Regions from separate parts of the Homo sapiens genome. Here regions 1 and 3 are each linked to region 2. The links are contacts of gene promoters, found by promoter capture Hi-C in blood cells and fetal thymus (Javierre and others, 2016). All regions are on one chromosome and are shown on one strand. Each heading gives the region's core, a stretch centred on a gene start or on the middle of the fragment in contact. The rest is flanking DNA. Distances are from core to core; before and after follow the strand shown. Region 1 has its middle 11 kb from the start of COA5. Region 2 holds the start of MGAT4A (alpha-1,3-mannosyl-glycoprotein 4-beta-N-acetylglucosaminyltransferase A). Region 3 overlaps INPP4A (inositol polyphosphate-4-phosphatase type I A).

What was found. The method cuts DNA at HindIII sites, captures the fragments that hold promoters and counts their contacts. A CHiCAGO score of 5 or more calls a contact.
Region 1: a fragment that was not itself captured here is called in contact with the fragment with the promoter of MGAT4A in region 2 in 2 of 17 cell types (naive CD4 T cells and non-activated CD4 T cells); the score reaches 6.7 in naive CD4 T cells.
Region 3: a fragment that was not itself captured here is called in contact with the fragment with the promoter of MGAT4A in region 2 in 2 of 17 cell types (activated CD4 T cells and non-activated CD4 T cells); the score reaches 6.5 in activated CD4 T cells.

Annotation. Positions count from the first base shown.
Region 1 is chr2:98,595,963-98,598,662 of GRCh38, forward strand. No RefSeq gene overlaps it. Among named protein-coding and RNA genes, the nearest start is that of COA5, 11 kb to the right of the region's middle. The HindIII fragment of the contact is 1,472 bases long and covers 675-2,146 here.
Region 2 is chr2:98,729,768-98,732,467 of GRCh38, forward strand. MGAT4A (alpha-1,3-mannosyl-glycoprotein 4-beta-N-acetylglucosaminyltransferase A) reads right to left here and starts at 1,365. Exons shown (of 16, transcript NM_012214.3): 1 at 1,281-1,365. It overlaps LOC107985922 (a long non-coding RNA gene), which reads left to right and starts at 1,514. Exons shown (of 2, transcript XR_007087150.1): 1 at 1,514-1,928. RefSeq lists silencers at 1,373-1,702, 1,723-1,912, 2,019-2,313. The HindIII fragment of the contact is 4,047 bases long and covers 1-2,700 here.
Region 3 is chr2:98,480,162-98,482,861 of GRCh38, forward strand. The region is part of intron 1 of INPP4A (inositol polyphosphate-4-phosphatase type I A); the gene reads left to right. Among named protein-coding and RNA genes, the nearest start is that of INPP4A, 37 kb to the left of the region's middle. The HindIII fragment of the contact is 2,587 bases long and covers 9-2,595 here.

The sequences.
Region 1 (2,700 bases), core at 161-2,660, 130 kb before region 2:
TAAAACAATAATGATGGTGTAAGTATTATAGAAAACATAATACATGTACTATCTTTGAAAAATTTTAGAGCTGTAGTTTGCACGATAGAAAATATATATCAACATTTCATCACATCAGAAATATATGCAATGTTAGATCTATTACATTGTGACATTTTAGGAAAAAAAGAACTGGGATTTTACTTTTGTATTCCTAAGATTGTGGCCAGATTTTGAATGACTAATATTTATAGAATTGAATTAAATGTATTTCTAAAAGTTTAAAAAAAAAACAACCCACCATTGTTGAACAATCTCCAAAGGAAATTAAGGAAACAGTTCTATGTACAGTAGCATCATAAAGAAAATACTCAGGAATAAACAACCAAAGAGGCAAAAGTCTTGTATATTGAAAACTACAAAATTTTGCTGCAAAGAAATTAAGAATGCCAAAAAATGGAAAGACATCTTGCGCACATGGATTGAAAGACCTAATATTGTTAAGATGACAGTACTATCAAAAGTGAGCTACAGATTCAATGTACCCCCCCCCCATCAAATTCCCAACTGATTTTTTTGTGTGTGGAAATAGAAAAATCCATCCTAAGATTTACATCGAATCTCAAGGAACCCCAGGTAGCCAAAACAATCTTGAAAAAGAACAAAGCTGGAGGTCGCATACTTCCTGATTTCAAAGCTTATTATTACAGAGCTACAGTAATCAAAATAATGTGGCACTGGCATAAATATGTACAGACAGAAGTGCAGAATAGAATAGCATGCCCAGAAATAAACCCTGGCATATATGGTCAAATGATTTTCCACAGGATGCCAAGACCATTCAATGGGGAAAGAACATCTTTTCAACAAATGGTGTTGGGAAAACCAGCTATCCTTAGGCAAAAAAGCTGGACACTCACACCATATACAAAAGTTAACTCAAAATAGATCAAAGACATAATTTAAAAGCTAAAACTCTAACTCCTAGAAGAAAACACAGGAGAAACTTCATTGGAGTCAGCGGTGACTTGGGTATGACACCAAAAGCACAGGCAACAAAAGTAAAAACAAACTAGACTACACCAAAATGCAAAACCCCTGTGCATTTAAAAAAAAAAAAAAAGGCAGCCTACAGAATGGGAGAAAATATTTGCAAATCATGCATCTGATAAGAGGTTAACATCTAGAATATACAAGGAACTTCAACAATAAAAGAGCAAACAACCTATTTTTTTAATACCCATCTACCACCTTAACCATTTTAAGGGATTTAACCCATTTGAATGATTTAACTCATTCAAAATGACTTGAGACATCTCTCCAAAGAGATATACAAATGGCCAACAAGTACATGAAATTATGTTCACCACTAATCATTAGGAAGATGCAAATTAAAACCACACTGAGATACTTCACACCTATTAGGATGGCCACTATTTAAAAAAAAATAAAAAATAACAAGTATAGGCAAGAATGTGGAAAAGTTGAAATCCTTGTGTGCTGTTACTGTAGACTAGTATGGCTGCTGTGGAAAACAGTACGGCTGATCCTGAAAAAATTAGAATAACTGTGTGCTCCAGCAATTCCACTTATGGGTATATACCCACAAGAACTGAAAGCAGGGTCACAGAGGTATCTGTATACCCATATTCACAGCAGCATTATTCACAGTTACCCAAAGGCACAAGCAACCCAAGTGTCCACTGACAGATAGGTAAACAAAATGTGCTATATACATACAACTGAATATTATTTGGCCTTAAAAAAGGAAGGAAATTTTGATACATACTACAACATGGATGAACCTTGAGAACATATGCTAAGTGAAATATGCCAGTCAAAGACAAATGTGGTATGATTCCACACGAGGCACTTACTGTAGACATAAAGTAGAATGGTGACTGTCAAGGTGGAGAGTTGGAGGGGTGGTGGGGGTGAAGGGGAGTTCTGGAGATTGGTTGCATAATTGTGAGTGCACTCAACACTGTTGAACTGTACACTTAAAAATGGTTAAGATAGTAAATTTTATATGTATCTTACATTTAAAATTTTAAAAATATATTGCAAATAAAAGCCTGAAAAATTATTTTTAAAATGAATCAGACTCACATGTAAGAGGTAAAAATGTAAAACTCTTAAATGAAGATAAAACAATAAATTTCCATTAAGCTTAGATTAGGCAATGGTTTCTTAGATACACCAAAAGAAAAAAATAAATTGTAATTCACCAAAATTAGAAATTATACTTCAAAGGATACCATCAAGAAAGTGAAGAGACAAACCACAAATTGGGAGAATCTGTGAATCACTTATCTTTAGGTGACTTGTATCTACAACATACAAAAAACTGTTACAACAATAAAAAGAACCGAACTGAAAACTGGACTAAGGACTTGAATAGACATTTCTCTAAAGACATACAAATGGCCAATAAGCACATGAAAACATGCTCAGACATCATTAGTCGTTAGAGAAATGAAAGTCAAAATCTCAAGTAGATACCACTTCATACCCAGTAGAATGGCTGTAATCAAACATGAATTATAACTGCTGGTGATGTGGAGAAACTGGAACCCTCAAAGATTGTTGGTGGAAATGTAAAATGGTACAGCTACTGTGGAAAATTTTGGCAGTTCATCAAAATGTTAAAGTTGGGCCAGGAACAGTGGCCCACGCCTGTAATCCCAGCACTTTGGGAGGCCGAGGTGGGAGGATCACCTG
Region 2 (2,700 bases), core at 115-2,614:
ATCAGCATCCCACAGACAGGGTAGAGGTGACTTAAGAATGAAAGGCACAATAATCCCTGATATCTGGAATCAATAAAATCCATGACGTAAGCCTATATAACTTTACACACCACAATTGTGGCAAAATTCATTTATTTGCCATTTATAAACGGGTCAGTAGTTTTCTTTAATACAGCTTACGTAATGTCATCGCCCAGTGCGTTTTCGGGTTTACACGTGTGGGTTAAAGAAATCTATGTCAAGATAACCTGTTCATCAAACTGTTTTTTAAACATTCAGAAAAAGAAACATAAACCACAAAACGCATATTTTTATTCTAAATTTACAGTCTACGTTCCAACGAACGACTGTCATTATCTTTTATCAAATAATCTGTCCAACAGCAAAAGCACAACAGCAAAATACGTGGAAAGCATTCAAAGCATACATTGTGCCTGCTTCTATTTTCCAATGCGGAATGTAGGCAATGAAACCGCTCCAGAGAAACACACTGTTGCGAGGAATAAAGGCGGGTGTGCAAGTGGCTCGACTGCCAGCTCAGAAAAGCTCGCCTCCGAGATGTCACCTGGCACACTTGGTGGAGTCACCGAGACCCAGCCTCAGGGTCCTACTGCAGCTTCCTCATTACGGAGAGAGCTGAGGCCTGGGGAAACGGGGGCTGCTCTTTCACGCGGGCCCCGCAGCCCTTCACTTTGTGTGAAAATTCCCTGCGAAGGCTGCACGGCCGGTCCCCTCGGGAGCAGCCCCTGCCCCTGCGCCTCGGACCGTCCGGCCCCGCCCACCTGCCCCGCGGCCCCCGCGAAAGCGCCGACTCCCGCGCAGCCCCCGGGTCCCACAGGCAGCTGTCCCTCCCCCTCCGCACCCCCCGGATCAGCACTTTGCTCCACTTTCCCCCAAAGTCGCCGAGCCCCGCCACGCCGGGGAGCGCCAGGAACGCACCAGGCGCCGAGCCGGCCGCAGAGAGGGCGCGCGACCCCGAGGGGTGCGCGGTGCGGGGCAGGGACGCTGGGAGGACGGCCCGGCCCGCGCCCCGCCGCCCGCCCCCGAGGCCCAGCCGCTCCCGGAGCCGGCCCCGCGCCCAGAGGCGCCAACAGCTCCCCCGCACAGAGCTCCGGCCGGGCCGCGGCGCAGTAGGCTCCTTTACCAGCAGGTGGATCTCCCGCAGCCCGGGGCCGCCAGCCCGGCCGCCGGCGCCGCCCCCAACTCCCGCGCCCTCCGCGCAGCCGCCCCGCGCCCCCTCCCGCCCCCGCGCGCCGCCGCTGCCGCCGCGAGCCCCTCACCCGCCGCTGGCGTCGCCGTGCTCCCGCGGCTGCCGGCGGAGCTGCTGTAGCCGCCGCCGCCGCTGCCGCCGCCGCTGCGGGCCGCCCCGCCCGCCCCGCCGGCTCCGCCCCCGCCGCTGGAGCGCCCGCCCCGCCCCGCCCCGCCGGGCCGCCCCGACCCCGCCAGCCATTGGCCGGCCCCGCGGGCCCCGCGCCCCGCGCCCCGCGCCCCACCAGTGGCCCGCGCGACTGTCACTTAGGGGCGCCGCCACGCAGCCTGCGGAGCGTTCGGGAGGCTGGCCCGGCTCATCGGTGTCACGGCGAGGTCCGGAGCGGAGCCGCGGTCTCGGGTCCCAGCTCTGGGCGCCGGCCTGCTCCCCGCCGCCCCGCTGCCACATCTGGCTGAGATCCTCCCGGCGCGTGCAGGGACCGCTCCGGCGGCCAACAAAGGCCCGGGCGAGCCCTCGGCCTGCGCCTCGGCGCGCGACCCGACCACCCGGGGCTGCCCCAGCTCCCAGGCGCCTGCCTGCCTCGACCCGGCCCCTTCCCAGCGGCGCGCCCCGCTCCGGGCCGCCCAAACTGGGCGGCCTCCCCGGGGACAGGTCCCGGGCCCAGCCCCACAGGAGCTCCCGAGGCCCCGCGGACGGTCGCGACAGCCCCAACTTCCCGGTGAGAACCCCGCGAATCGGCCAGAAGGGCTGATTTCAGCAACTGGGAAGGAGAAAAACAACTAGGGTTTCAACGCACATCGTTGGGTGCTAATGCCCCTGATTTTCCACTATGCCCCGTTTTCTTGAACCCCATGTCCTTATCTGTCGCCGTTTCACAAGGTTAGAGGTTAACTTCAAAGGCAAAAAACTGACTCGTTTGTAGAAAGCCTGGGTGGTCTGTCCCTGTTTTTCATAGTATCCATAGGACTTGTGCTAACAGTAACTACCCCTGGGTACGTCCTCTTTTGAATACTTAACTGTATAGCAGGCAACCGTATAGCAGGCATGGGTGTTAGATCGTTTATTGCATATCTCATGTTTTAAATTTATTCCCCATTTTTCATAAGAGGAAACTAGCTGAGAGGTGAAAGGGCTTGCCCAAGGTCACACAGCTGGTAATGGTTCAAAAACAAGGGATGTGTTAACTTTATTGCCGCAATAATCCTTACAGCAATCCTACCGAGTAACCTGTAAGGGAATTGAGGGGCCAAAGATCAAGGAGGCAGCCTTGTTCCTGCCAAACTCCCAAAGTAATAAGTAGATTCTTTTCAGAAAACAGTAATTTCAATAATCGAAAACTCTTAAGAGGCATCAATCAGAACAGGGTCCCCTCCCCACCTCCGATAAATTCCATTATTTTTATCTCAAGATAAGAATAATTAATAATCAGCTAGAACATGCATGGAGTTATCAGCCTTCCCATGTTGAGGTTTCTCCATGACGGCTAATTT
Region 3 (2,700 bases), core at 52-2,551, 250 kb before region 2:
GAAACTAAAGCTTTTTTTCTGTTTCTGTAGGGCATTGGGTGGAGCCTTGCCAGGGGCTCCTGGTTCTGACTGTCTTGGGTGGGTGGGGAACTCAGCCCTGAGAGGTTGGCTCACTGAGCATTTACCATATGCTGGGCATTGGGCCAGATGTCTGTCTAGGATCAGTTTATTAATCCCCAGCTACCTGATGAGGTAATTATTATTCATTTCCATTTTGCAGAGGAGGGAAGGGATGCTCAGAGAGAGGTGGAGTGACTTACCAGATTTTTATCTGGTGCCCTATCATATGCTCTTACGACACAGAGCAGCTTTTTGCTGTAGAAAGGACTGTCGTCATTTTACCTGTGTTAGGAACATCATCACTGACTGTGGTTCCCCTGCACTGACATTCTGGGCATTAAGGGCTGAGTCTGGGCTCTTTCTCCTATGGGTGTCTGTCCTCTCACTTGGCCCCAGGCCTTGGTGACCCTCTGTGCACTGAAGGAGTAAATGACTGAGGTGGCCAGCTAGCTCCCGTGCATTTGCACACATGGTCCCTCACTCCTGGCCCCCATCCCTTGCCAGGCAGAATGTGCCCGTCTCCAGTCCCTTGCATTGCTGGCAGCCTCAGACCGGAGAGCACTGAATCTTCCACTAGCCTGTCTTCTTGCCAGCTGCAGCCCCAGGGCGCGTGTGTCCGTCTCCGCAGCCAAACTCCCCCTGTGCTGGCCTGTGGAGGGTGAGTGGGGGGCAGGGTGCCGCACACTCTGGACCCTTCCAGCCCCAGGAAGGAGTTGTGGTGCTGCACGTGCTCCATTCTCACATGCTTCTCAGGCTGCAGGCTGTGCATTACCAGTGTGCAGTTTAGGAAACTGAGGCCCAAAGAGAGCAAAGCAGCACCTGGGGACTGACCTTGAGTTACACAGGTGTGCTTCAAGTTCTTCTGCTAGTTACCTTTCAATGCCAACACTGGGGAGGGGGTGTCCTAACAAAACATAATTTAATCAGAGCACTGTGAACTTTTCCTGCATCTGACACGTCCCTCTCAAGGTGGAGGGTGTCACCACCTGCTGCCCATTGTAATCCCTCACCCCACAGAGAGGCCAGGAAGTGAACAGGAGACTTGGAGGAATGTGGACCTGGTGTGATCCTGTGTGGAGCAAGGATGTCTTCCTCTGAAAATTCCCTGGGGGGAAAGAAATGGCATACATTTCCTATACCAGTGGGGGCTTGGTCCCTTGGCACGCATAAATCGACCACTCTTGGCAGCCAGAACCCTCGCTCCTCCAGTTTTATTCTGGTTGCCTGTGGCTCTTGGATAATCCTGTGGTCTCTTTGGGGTGCTGGTTTCTTTAGGGAGCTGCATTTGGCTTAAGGCTGGCATATGTTTTAGCTATCTGAAGTGGTTTTAGATATAAAGATTCAGTGACAGAATTCTCTATATAAAATGATTATATCACATTGAGCCTCAGTAACAGATTAATGGGGAAGGAAGGATTTATTATGTTTCCAAGTGATCCAATGTGAGCAAGCAGGCTTTGTACCAGGGGAGAATTCTAAGTGCTTGTCCTCCCTGTGGAATTGTGTTTTGCAGAATCCCAGGAAGACAGGGAGGCTGTGACAGCCTGTAAATGTGATGCTCAGCTGGCCTTGAGTGTCAGCTAGCTTGCTGGTCTTCAGGGTGCTCCCTGTCCACGCACCACCTCTGGCTGGGCTTTCCGTTCTCTAGTGAAAGGTTTTCTCAGCAGCACCTTTGCCTCTCCTTCTCCCTTCATTACGAGTTTGCCATGTTGGAGTTGGATTGTTTGATGTCTTGTCCTGGCTTAACAACTCAACACTGTGTACTTTAAAAGCTCCAAGTTTAGGCTCACACCTGTAATCCCAGTTTTTTGGGAAGCTGCAGTGGGAGGATCACTTGAGGCAAGGAGTTTGAGACCAGTTTAGTTGACAGAGTAAGATCCTGTCTTTAAAATAAATATAATTTTTTAAACTTGAAATTTAAGCAGAAGCCACGTTAAAGTGGCACAGCAGGTGATGTGAGGGACCCTGTTGGGCCACCTTGCTGTAAAATGTTTTCTGTATCCTGCTTTTTTCCTCTTTGCCTTTACACCTGTGGTTCCCACATTATTGGGCTGAGACTCTGGAGATCTGGGTAAAATCCCATCCTAGAGGGACAGCAGGTTAAATCACTTTTCCTATCTTGGCCAGCTGTGGTTTAGCTTATTGGCACCAGTCAGAGCAGGGCCTCAAGGGATGTTAGGATTGGTTGCACCTGGTTCAGAATATGGGGCCCTGCAAGGAGGGCAGTCTGAAGAAGAGTGGGATTAAAAACGAAAGCAGCCAACAGAAAGGTGGGCACCTAGAGGCAGGTGCAACTGGCTGTCCTGGAAAGCAGAGAGGGGCAGCTGTGGGCCTCTGTGCAATGGCCCCTCCACTTGTCACACCTGCCAGAATGGAGGTGTCTCCCCAGTGGGCCTGTCACAGGGAGGCCAGCGACCAGCCAGTCAGTGCTGACAGTAGGCAAGTGTGGTTGACATCCAGGGATGAGCCTCTGAGCAACCCTGGGATGTGATGCAAAAAGATATATGTGTCCTCTTGCATTTAAGAGAAATGCAAAGCTTTTGATCTAAGCTTACACTTGAAAAAATTATACTTACATTGCTTTTTTGAAAATAAGTGAAAGCATAATAGAGGTTGAACATCCCTGATCTGAAAATCCAA